2 separate regions of the Homo sapiens genome follow, and region 2 is linked to region 1. The links are contacts of gene promoters, found by promoter capture Hi-C in blood cells and fetal thymus (Javierre and others, 2016). All regions are on one chromosome and are shown on one strand. Each heading gives the region's core, a stretch centred on a gene start or on the middle of the fragment in contact. The rest is flanking DNA. Distances are from core to core; before and after follow the strand shown. Region 1 holds the start of FOXF2 (forkhead box F2). Region 2 has its middle 10 kb from the start of LIRIL2R.

What was found. Contacts are between HindIII fragments. The CHiCAGO score rates a contact against its expected background, and 5 or more counts as called.
Region 2: a contact is called between a fragment that was not itself captured here and the fragment with the promoter of FOXF2 in region 1, in 2 of 17 cell types (activated CD4 T cells and total B cells). The highest score is 6.9, in activated CD4 T cells.

Annotation. Positions count from the first base shown.
Region 1 is chr6:1,387,528-1,393,425 of GRCh38, forward strand. It overlaps FOXF2 (forkhead box F2), which reads left to right and starts at 2,049. Exons shown (of 2, transcript NM_001452.2): 1 at 2,049-3,591. The coding sequence starts at 2,421. It overlaps FOXF2-DT (FOXF2 divergent transcript), which reads right to left and starts at 1,934. Exons shown (of 3, transcript NR_187218.1): 1 at 1,492-1,934. MIR6720 (microRNA 6720) reads right to left here and starts at 2,884; the gene lies at 2,787-2,884. RefSeq lists an enhancer at 3,231-4,096. The HindIII fragment of the contact is 4,023 bases long and covers 1-3,802 here.
Region 2 is chr6:166,885-173,091 of GRCh38, forward strand. It overlaps the pseudogene ANKRD18FP. Among named protein-coding and RNA genes, the nearest start is that of LIRIL2R, 10 kb to the right of the region's middle. The HindIII fragment of the contact is 1,969 bases long and covers 409-2,377 here.

The sequences.
Region 1 (5,898 bases), core at 799-3,298:
TTCCACACAAAATGACAAATGAGGGCAAGAGAAAAAAATACCATGAAATATATGGGGACGCACCCCCCAAAAACGCTCAGCAGTCAGTCAGAAATTCTTAGAAAGTGGAAACAACTGCGAAGCCCTACCCCAACCCAATCAAAACATCCCACCCGGAAAAGAGCGACTTGTTTCTTTTTTCTATTGGAAATGAGTGGTAAACTGAGTTCGGTTTGGCGGTGTTTTCTTAGCTGACTCTCGGCTACAATCAAGCCATTTTCGGACACATTCCCATGTAGGTACCAGGGGTGCTCTGGAGGAAGCTGTCGACGCCTGTTCAGCTAATTTAGGTTTTCTTTGTCTAATTACTGTGGAGCTTAGGGAGAAGGAGCCGGCTCAGGGCAGTAAACTGACACTCGGTCTCTGTGTGTGGTATCCAGGCAGGGTTTGATGGAAAAAGCCTGCTTCCACTCAACCTCAGGTCACTGTCTGGGGCCAGCCCCGGCCCACCCCCCTCCCACATACCCCTCCCCTCCCCACCCGCCCTCTCTGCATCTACAGCCCCACCAGCACACTCAGCCAGGAGCAGTCCCCCGGCACTCCAGGGGCACACAGGGCTCCTGCCGCCCCAGGGGGCCTGCCTAGGCTGTGCGGCTGTGAAGGCTCTTTGCCTGGTGTCTTCCTCCTGATTACTGCACAACCTCCCTTTCTCCTGCCTCCTGCAACTCCCCAGGCTCCCCAGCAGGCACACCCGTGCACCTCGGTCCTTTCAGCCTAGACGCAGCGGGGTGCCCAGCTCTACCTCCTGTTTGGTCCGCTGGTCTGCAGCACCTTCTTTCTGGGCCTCCCCCTTCAGCCCTTGGGAGGCCCCGCCAGCTCCGGCCTCCTGCTCTCCTCCTCCCTCTCCCAGCTCCTATCCCTGGTCGGACTACATTTCCCTGCACGTGTAATCCAATAACTAACTGTCGGGTCTCATTGGAAGTGATTGCTCCCGAGGGCACATCTCTCTCAGAGCCTGACTCTTACTTAGGGAGGAATTAGCCACAACTGGGGAGAAGTGTTCTCGGACAGGAGTTAGCTGAGACCTGGCACAGTTTTGGGTGGGCAATGTTAAGACGGAGGATGTAAACCTAGTGACAGCTGCACACCCCTTCAGGACTGACTATAAATATAGCCATCTCGCTTATCTCAGGGTCTTTCTTTTTCTTTCTCTTTCTTTCTTTTCTTCCTTCCTTCCTTTTTCTTTTGCACTTTTTTCTTACAGAACACTAACTGGGGTGCGGGGGTGGGGGGAAGAAGTGGAAGCAAATGCAACCCTAAGTCCCATGAGATCCAGGTTTCCAGAGTCTTTGAAACTTGGCCTAGGTTTCTCAGTGTAAATCCCTCTGCTCAAAGTTCCGAAAACGTCCACGATCGCCAGCGGCCCGCAACCCTGCGGCGGCCCCCAGTCGCCCTAACAATTGTCGGGGAGCCTGCAGGCCCTGCCAGAAAGAGAGAGGATTGGCACGTTACCTTTGGGCGTCTGGCACCCCGGCGTGTGGCTGAGGGCGGCAAAGTCTAAACGAAGTTGACAGATGGAGTCAGTATCGGCCCTGGGGAGGGCGGCCAGGGAGGCTCCGAGCAGCCGCACCCGCAGCAGCACCACTCGGCCCGGCGGGCCAGGAGGAGGAAGGGGGCGCGGAGGGGCGGGGCTGGGTCCTGGGATGGGACGCGGGGCTTGCTGCGGGGGGCAAACAGAAAGAATATTTCATGAAGTCAGAGGTGGTCGAGTTTTGCGAGGGGTGGGGGTCGTCCCCCTGGCAGAACCGGAGTGAGTCTGTGATCCCTCAATTGGAAAGAGGGTGAGTGAGGGAAAGGGGAGGAGGCCGCGAGAGGAATGAAGAGCGAGGAGACCCTGGAGAGCGGGGAGCGAGATAAGAGAGGGAGGCGGCCGCCAGGTCGGGAGGGGGAGGAGTGAGCGCGGCGGCGCGGAGCGAGGAGGGGGCAGGGCGGGGTGGGGGGGGAGGGAGGGAGGGAGGGAGCGAGGAGGGCGGCCGGGGAGGGCGAGGGAGGGAGGAAGTCCGAGAGACAGAGCGAGGAGCGCTCCTGAAGGGAGACGTCGGGCTCGTCCCCGGGGTCCAGGCCGCGGTCCCACTCGCGGGCGCAGTCGCCCGGCGCCGGCCGCTCGGCCCCGCGGCCTGGGAGGCCGTTGCGCAAGGCAGGGCCCGCGGCTCGGGGAGGGATGCGCCGGGCGTTGCCTCCCGCCCGCCGCCGCCGCCGCCGCCAGAAGCCCCAGAGGAGCTGAGGGAGGCGACGCCGAAGCGCTGGCCCGGAGTGGCCACGGCTGCAGCCCGGGCGGCGGGCTAGGGCGCTCGCAGGGCTTCTGGGCCGACCCCGCTCCGGCGCCTCCGCTTCCCGCCCGGGGCCCGCCCTCGCGGCCCGGCCTCGCTCCCGGGTCCCAGATGACCACCGAGGGCGGGCCGCCGCCGGCCCCGCTCCGCCGCGCGTGCAGCCCGGTCCCCGGCGCGCTCCAGGCCGCCCTGATGAGCCCGCCGCCCGCCGCCGCCGCCGCCGCCGCCGCCGCCCCGGAGACCACCTCCTCCTCCTCGTCGTCGTCCTCCGCCTCCTGCGCCTCGTCCTCGTCCTCCTCCAATTCGGCCAGCGCCCCCTCGGCTGCCTGCAAGAGCGCGGGCGGCGGCGGCGCGGGCGCCGGGAGCGGGGGCGCCAAGAAGGCGAGCTCGGGGCTGCGGCGGCCCGAGAAGCCGCCCTACTCGTACATCGCGCTCATCGTCATGGCCATCCAGAGCTCGCCCAGCAAGCGCCTGACGCTCAGCGAGATCTACCAGTTCCTGCAGGCGCGCTTCCCCTTCTTCCGCGGCGCCTACCAGGGCTGGAAGAACTCGGTGCGCCACAATCTCTCGCTCAACGAGTGCTTCATCAAGCTGCCTAAGGGCCTCGGGCGGCCCGGCAAGGGCCACTACTGGACCATCGACCCGGCCAGCGAGTTCATGTTCGAGGAGGGCTCGTTCCGCCGCCGGCCGCGCGGCTTCAGGCGGAAGTGCCAGGCGCTCAAGCCCATGTACCACCGCGTGGTGAGCGGCTTGGGCTTCGGGGCGTCGCTGCTGCCCCAGGGCTTCGACTTCCAGGCGCCCCCGTCGGCGCCGCTCGGCTGCCACAGCCAGGGCGGCTACGGCGGCCTCGACATGATGCCCGCGGGCTACGACGCCGGCGCGGGCGCCCCCAGCCACGCGCACCCTCACCACCACCACCACCACCACGTCCCGCACATGTCGCCCAACCCGGGTTCCACCTACATGGCCAGCTGCCCGGTGCCCGCGGGACCCGGGGGCGTCGGTGCGGCCGGGGGCGGCGGCGGCGGCGACTACGGGCCGGACAGCAGCAGCAGCCCGGTACCCTCGTCCCCGGCCATGGCGAGCGCCATCGAATGCCACTCGCCCTACACGAGCCCTGCGGCGCACTGGAGCTCGCCTGGCGCCTCGCCTTACCTCAAGCAGCCGCCTGCCCTGACGCCCAGCAGCAACCCCGCCGCCTCGGCAGGCCTGCACTCCAGCATGTCCTCCTACTCGCTGGAGCAGAGCTACTTGCACCAGAACGCTCGCGAGGACCTCTCAGGTAACGCAGCACGCTCCAGCCCAGCCAGCTGGGCGCACCGCTTCTAGGCCTCCAGGGCTGGCGGCCACTGCCACTCCCACAAACAGGGACCCCGAAGCTAGGAGGTCTGAGGGCACTGGGAAAAGCAGATGCTGGGGAAAGCCGGCATCTTATTCGTGGGAGCAGGGATCAGGGTCTTACTGTCCTCCCAGTATCCCTGGCCAGCAGCCGAAGCTTCAGAATTGTCTGGCTGCTGTGAGCGTGGTGTAAAGTCCCCTGCCTTCCTGGGCTCTTTGGGGATCCCTGTGCAGGAGACTGCAGGTCTCCCGTTCAGAGTCTCACTTAGCTTGGAGAGAAGGCATCTGGCCTTTGGGGAACTTGGTCAGGAAGCTGTGTCTAGTTCCTTTTGTCCCTTTTTTTCCTTGCGTTCATTTTGCTGTACTTCTGTCCCGAAGTAAATGTCAGAATCAGATATGTTCTGTATGTTGGGGTGTCTGCAGCGAGATGTTTGCAGCTGGGCAAGTGTTAAGAGGAGGGGGTGGGAGGGACAGAGCTGGATCCCAGGATCTTTCACTAAAGGGACATTTGCCAGTGGAGGGGGTCACCAAACTGTTGGAGACTCCTCCCCTTCCCTGCCTCCCCCCCCGCCCAACAATGGACCCACATTGATGATACAGGTCCTGGGTGGCAGGACCTGAAGGACCCTGCTAGGACTCCCCTGAGAAATGCGCCTGCCCTGTGGATGCCACTTGTAGTGTGGCTGGTTTACATTGTTCTGGTTGCAGATTATGAAAAATTATTGACTTGCTGAAGGCGGTGAAAGGTGGGAGGGGACGGTAGGGATGGAAGAGGGAATTTGAATATTTGACCAGGTTAATGTGAAGAACAGAGATAAACCCTTACATTAACCCCTCGCTCGGAGCACCTAGGGCTGCAGATTAAAATCCCATGGGCCTGCCAGTCAAAGGCAAGGCCCCAAGCTACTCTCTCACACTGGCCTCCCACAGCAATGAGACAGTGGCTTGGAGGGTGATGCATGCTTTATGTGTTCCTGAGCCGGTGTGCAGCGGGAGCACCCGGGGAGAAGGAAAGCCCAGAAATGGGCAAAAGATGTTGGTTCCCTGGACGGTGAAATTTCCCAAATAGGCCTTTTAAATGTGGGTCTCAGAGGTTAACCAAACAAAGACAGTCTCGGCAGGACCACACCGGAGAGGATTTTAGCCTGACTTAACCCACTGAGAACAGAGTCTTGTTCAATTTTATGGGAATTTCAACAAGTAACCAATACAGGCGGCCTTCCCCTCTTATTTTTGTATTCCCTTGGACCGGCTGTCAATCACACACACACACACACACACACACACACACACACACACACACCCCTCGGTGCACTGGCCCCTTCCCTTCCCCGCCTGCCTGCTCCTCTCCCAGCCTGCCAGCTGCCCTCCCTGCTCCCCTTCTTCTCCTCTCCCGGCAGATCCACTCAACTTGAACCCGGACTCTGAGGCTTAGCAGCCTTGGAGAAACCGTACTCTAGGAAGAAAAAAAAGCACACAGGAAAGAGACTCCTGACCCTTCCTCAAGGCTGCTCTCGCCCCACCTCATAACACTGGGCGCAGGCACAAGCTCCCAAAACTTCGGAATCTGGATACATTACTGTCTTGGAGGGGGTGAAAACTGCCCAGCAAAGCAAGCCGGCCTCTGTGCCCCTACCCAGCGGCCTCCCGCGGCCGGCCTTCCCTGGGAGCCTCGCAGAACCCCCGACCGAGTCTGGGAACGCCCGGGGGAGACAATAGCTCGGGCCTGACGCCCGACAGGGACCCTCTGCCCTTCCTTCCTCGCTGTCTTGCTCCCGTCCCTATAGGATACCCACCCGGCCCTGTTGCCATCTCCCTGGAGCGCCAGCGGTGGAGGCTTCGGAGGAGCCGGCCGGATGCACCGGGACCCCGCGGGGCCTAGTTGGGAGCGCGCCGCCCACTGAGGCCTGGGGGCCCGGCGAGGCGCGGGGGTGGCCAAGGCAGTCTCCCCGGCACACAGATCAGCACATGTCTACGCGCACACACCCAGCACGACCCTCCCTCCCCCAGCACACCCCAAGGGCCGCGCCCTCCGCTCCTGGGCCTGGTGGCCATGGTCCATGTGCCCCTGCCGGCGCAGGGGCTGCCCTGGAGTTCTCCATTAAGCCCTGCGAGCACTTCAGGAAGGAGCTCGGGCTTCTGTCATCCCGCTCAGCACATCAAAGCGCCGACGGCCGCCTTCGTGGGCAGGTGTGAGCGCTCGCCCTCTCTCCTCCCGAGCCTGCTATTTTGTGGTCCAGGACTTGCCATC
Region 2 (6,207 bases), core at 143-2,642, 1.2 Mb before region 1:
AGGGATGGAAAACTTGAGATAGTGCAAAGAAACTTTAAAAGTGGTATGAACCGCAGCCAAAACTACAATCAATCAGAAAGTAAGCCAAAGTGGCTGAGCGCGGTGGCTCATTCCTGTAATCCCAGCACTTTGGGAGGCTGAAGCAGGGGGATCACGAGGTCAGGAGTTCGCGACCAGCCTGACCAGCATGGTGAAACTTCGTCTCTACTAAAAATACAAAAAATTAGCCGAGCATGGTGGCACACACCTGTAGTCTCAGCTACTTGGGAGGCTGACGCAGGAGAATTGCTTGAATGCAGCAGGCAGAGGTTGCAGTGAGCCGAGATCGCACCACTGTGAGCCGAGGTTGCATCACCACACTCCAGCCTGGGCGACAGAGTGAGACTCTGTCTCAAAAAAAAAAAAAAAAGCTTACCTTTAGTTATTAGGCAATAACATGCAATTTCTAAAACCTAACTTAAATGCAGTTTTTCAATCAATTTAAAATGTGTCAGTTTAGTTACATTTATTGAATCAAGTTAACAAATAAGTATCTCTTGAAAATGAGAGCTCCCAGGACTTATAAAAACCGTAAAGTTCCCATTTGCTTTCTGCATTAGCTAATTATGACCTTCACTTAACAAGCATAAGTCAATTGAACGACTCAGTATTTCACCAAATTAAAAACAAGAAGTATATTAGAAAAACAAAACCCAAAAGGGAAAAGGTAATATAACTAACCTCAGTCAAGCAGTTCATGCTGTTATTCGAAGTCTATGGGCTTGAAGTAGGGATCCTTATGGGTGTTTTGGAATATATTTTCTGTTGTGACCTATACTATTAAGATTTCCAACCCAGGGTGGCTCTGGGTCTGGCCTCATAGGCAGAGTGGTGGGAACAGATTTCATTTGCTCTTTCTCTATATGGAGCTTGCTGCTGACCATTGCTATTATCTCATTTGATCTGTACAGATAGCAAAAAACAAATGCCTAGTATTTTATTTTTCCTTAAATGATTCCTAAATGATTTGCAATTTTTAAAAAATTGCCCTGACAGCAAACAAAATTACCCACTAAACTGTTTTAACACCAAATGTGTGAGAGCATACCTGTTATAAGCAAGTATAATTTTAAAATCGTTCTTAAAAAATCACATATGTTTCTAAGAAGATTTCTAGTGAATAAGTAATTCAAACAAAGTAGGAAGGAGAGAGAAATGGCTATCGATGTACGGCTCAATAGGTAATGCTTGCTACCTTCTAGAAGGCTGTACTTATAAGATTCTGAGGATGCCATTAGAAATACTTGTATTCAGGCTGGGCACAGTGGCTCATATCTGTAATCCCAGCACTTTGGGAGGCTGAGGCGGGCAGATCACCGGGTCAGGAGTTCGAGACCAGCCTGGCCAACATGGTGAGAACCTGCCTCTACTAAAAATACAAAAATTAGCCAGGTGCAGTGGTGGGCGCCTGTAATCCTAGCTACTTGGGAGGCTGAGGCAGAAGAATTGCTTGAACCTGGGAGGCGGAGGTTGCAGTGAGCTGAGATTGCGCCACTGCACGCCAGCCTGGGCAACAAAGCAAGACTCCATCTCGGGAAAATTAAAAAAAAAAAAAGAAATACTTGTATTTAAAGGTAACTATGTGAGATGATATGTTAATTTGCTTGACTATAAGAACAACTTCACTATGAATAAACATATAGTAACGTGTTGTATGCCTTAAATAATATACAATTAAGAAAACTAAAACAAAAACAAAAACAAACAAAAACAGAAGCTAGAAATACTTGTATTTAGAAACCAGTTTCAGGATTTTAGAAATCACTCCTAAATATATTTTCAAACATTTGTTTTCACCACCCTTGTACATTTCACCCATTATCTAGGAAAAAATAAGCATTTCACACTGAGAAATAATTCAGAGCAAGAACTCCTAGGAGAGAACTAGATGGTTGGATTGGTGATCAAAAAGAACTAAAGCATCTCTGAAGGCAATCAGCCCTTAGCATTGTGACCAAGGCACTGGAGGTGGGGCTTGCCCTTTCTGTCTTCCACACACCCCTTCAGGCTGACCAAGGTGTTATTTTTAAACAACTTTGTAAATTACACTTTCTTTCATCCCTAGGATAATCATTCCCTATTTCACAAGCATGTCTTCCTGTAGACTGAAAAAACTATACAGAAAAGTTTGTCTCAAAGCGCCCTCTAGTGATAATACTAAAAATCACAATCAGGAAAGTTAAGTTACTAAATGCCAGGACGTGCCCAGAATAGTAGTAGTTTGGGCACTTTGAGTTTAGATTGTGACCTACTAAAAAACAAATTAAATTCATTAATATTTCCATTTAGAAGAATTCTGAAAAGTAATTTTACAGCAAGATCACTTTATTGACCATAAAGCTTCAAAAATGCTAAAAGACTAATAGACTAGGTTAACTACGTAAGATTTTTCAGGGGAAAAGGCCATACAAAAGTTAAAAAAAAAATGAGGGAAGAGACAGAAACTGTCCTTGACTAACATTTTAAATGTAAGTTTATTTACTAGCATTATTTTCAAAAATTATACTATCAGGATAGCTTTCACTTCCTACTAATCTCATGAAGTTGTCTCACTAAAAATTATGCTTTCATGGCAAATTAATGAACTTGATTGATTTTCTACAAGTGTATGTTTTGACTTATTTCTTTAAATTTTTTGACATGGATTTGTTAGCTTTTAATGTTATTGCAAAGACTTCCTTATATTCTTCTAATTCCGTAGTAAGCTCTTCATAAGCGGTTTTCATTTTGGAGAATTGACATTCCACGTCTTTCAGTCAGAGTTCTCTTTTATTCATCAAAGCCATATTATTCTCTTTTAACTGCTGTGTTTTTCATATTCTGCTTGTTTCTAAAACAAATAAAAAATCATACTTTTAAAACAATTATAACCTAATTAGTCTCTATTTGTTGCCTTTCATTTTGAGTCAGTGATTCAGAAAGCAATTTTAAATATGTGTTTTAAAAAGGGGCTGAAGTTTAAAACATCTATTAGCAATTTCATCTAAATTGATAACAGAATTCAGAATTAAATATGAATTATAAAAATTTGAAATCATTCTTGTTAGTGTTCATGTAATCTAATCATTTAAAAATAATAGAATCCATTGGAAATGTTAAAAACTGAACAATGTAGCGTAAGACCAATTCAAAAGTACCATATAATTTTAAATCAGAGTTTTCTTTTTCTAATAGTCTTATGCTAACTGGTTTTAATAACCAAATGACTGTATAGTGAAACTCACTACTCTGAAAGATCAACTTAGTTATAATCATGATGGAAATTTAAATATTTAAAATAAGAAACAGGTGCCACCTTTTTTTCTAAAACTCTACAAAGCAAATTCCTATAAGAGAGGCAGACAAAACACTGTATGTCTATATTATAATTTGCAGTGAAATAAATGAAAGCACATTACAGATAAACCTACCTGATTAAAAAAACTAACCTGTAAATTGATTTCTTCTAATTTTTCTATTTCCTGTCCTGCTCTTTCTTCCAACTGCAATTTACATTCTTCTACGTCACCAAATTCTACCATATTTTTTTCATGTGTCTTAAGATTCACTACTTCTTGTTCCAAAATTTTGTTAACCTCCTCAAGTTTTTTACATTTCTGTTGTACTTCTTTCATAGATAATAACTCCTGTTGAATAACTTGATTCTTTTTAGCCAAATATAGACATTTTTGAAGATATAGTTTCCAGCTCTGCTGTAAGTTCATCAAACTGCATAAATAAAATAGTACAGCTTGATAATGAAGTAGGCTGACACTATTTTATTATAAAACCAGTAACAAATTTTGAAATACATTTACTTGCAATAAAATGTTATCTATAATGCGGTAGATTCTTCCAACGTGAACGCTTAAATTACTCAGAAAATCAAGAACAAAGTTAAAGCCACCAAGAGTCAAAAAGATATATTAGTTACTTTTATCATCTTTGCCACAGAACTTTTGCACTTGATCTTACACTTTTATTTTTCTGATTGCTTATTTTTGTTCCTCCCTAAATGACTCTAAGTTATTTCTTAGTAGAAAGTTTCTAATCTCCTTCCTTCATGATCATGCCCAATAATTTCTAAAGAAGTTTTAGGGACATCATATTGAGTTATTTAGGCCAAGGTCAATAAATGGCTCTCAGAATAAGACTCTGAAAATAATAATCTAGGCCAGGTGTGGTGGCTCATGCCTGCAATCCCAGCACTTTGGGAGGCTGCAGCAGAACGATCACTTGAGGCCAGGAGTTTGTGACCAGCCAGAGCAACATAGTGAGACCCCCATCTTTACAAAAAGTTAAAAGCAATTAGTTAAAAACAATTACAATTAGTTAAAAACAATGACAAAAAGTTAAAAACAATTAGCCAGACATGGTGGCGCATTCCTGTAGTTTCAGCTGGTTGGGAGACTGAGGCAGGAGGATGGCTTGAACCCAGAGTTCAAGGCTGCAGTGAGCCATGACCACACCACTGCACTCCTTCCTGACTGACAGAGAAAGATCATATCTCAAAAAAAGACAAATTAATGCGTCCTGTAAATAAGGAGTATGATATGGTTTGGCTGTATCCCAACTCAAATCCCATTATGAATTGTATCTCCCATAATTCCCACATGTTGTGGGAGGGACCTGGTGGGACATAATTGAATCCAGGGAGTGGTTTCCCCCGTACTGGGCTTGTGGTAGTGAATATATCTCACAAGATCTGATGATTTTACAAGGGGTTTCCCCTTTCACTTGGCACTCCTTTCTCTCTTGTCCGCCACCATGTAAGACATGCCTTTCCCCTTCTGCCATGACTCTGAGGCCTCCCCAGCCATGTGGAACTGTGAGTTCATTAAACCTCTTTTTCTTTATCAATTACCCAGTCTCAGGTATGTCTTTATCAGCAGCATGAAAATGGACTAACACAGTAAGTTGGTACCAGTAGGGTGGTGTGCTGCCGTAAAGATACCCAAAAATGTGGAACTGGGTAATAGGCAGCAGTTGAGACAGTTTGGAGGGCTCAGAAGAAGACAGAAAAATGTGGGAAAGTTTGGAACTTCCTAGGGACTTGTTGAATGCCTTTGACCAAACTGCTGATAATGATATGGACAATAAAATTCAGGCTGAGATGGTCTCAGATAGAGATGAGGAACTCATTGGGAACTACTGTAAAAGTGATTCTTGCTATGTTTTAGCAAAGAGAGTGGTGGCATTTCGCCCCTGCCCTAGAGATATGTAGAACTTTGAACTTGAGGGAGATGACTTAGGGTATTTAGTGGAAGAAATTTCTAAGCAGCAAAGCATTCAAGAGGTGACTTGGGTGCTGTTAAAAGCATTCAGTTTTAAAAGGGAAACAGAACATAAAAGTTCAGAAAATTTGCACCCCGATAATGTGATAGAAAAGATTTTTTTCTGAGGAGAAAGTCAAGCCTGCTGCAGAAATATTCATACATAACAAGGGGCCAAATATTAATCACCAAGACAATGGGAAAAATGTCTCCAGGGCATGTAAGAGAACTTTGGGCAGCCCCTTCCCATCACAGCCCTGAAGGCCTGGAAGGAAAAAATGGTTTTGTAGGTATCCAGGCCCCCACTGCTGTGTGCAGCCCAAGGACTTGGTGCCCTGCATCCCAGCCACTCTAGATATGGTTAACAGGGGCCAAGGTACAGTTCAGGCTGTGGCTTCAGAGGTTACAAGCCCCAAGGCTTGGCAGCCTCCACATGGTGGTGAGCCTGTGGTTGCACAGAAGTTAAGAATTGAGGTTTGGGAACCTTCACCTAGATTTCGGAGGATGTATAAAAATGCCTGGATGTCCAGGCAAAAGTTTGCTGCAGAGGCAGGGCCCTCATGGAGAACCTCAGCTAAGGCAGTGTGGAAGGGAACTGTGAGGTTTAAGCCCCCACACTGAGTCCCCACCTGGGGCACTGCCTAGTGGAGCTGTGAGAAGAGGGCCACCATCCTCCAGACCCCAAAATGCTAGATCCACCAACAGCTTACACCATGCACCTGGAAAAGCCACAGACACTCAACACCAGCCCATAAAAGCAGCCAGGAGGGAGGCTGTACACTGCAAAGCCACAGGGGCAGAGCTGCCCAAGACCATGAGAATCCACCTCTTGCATCAGCATAACCTGGATGTGAGACATGGAGTCAAAGACAATCATTTTGGAGCTTTAAGATTTGCCTGTTAAGCTGGATTTTGG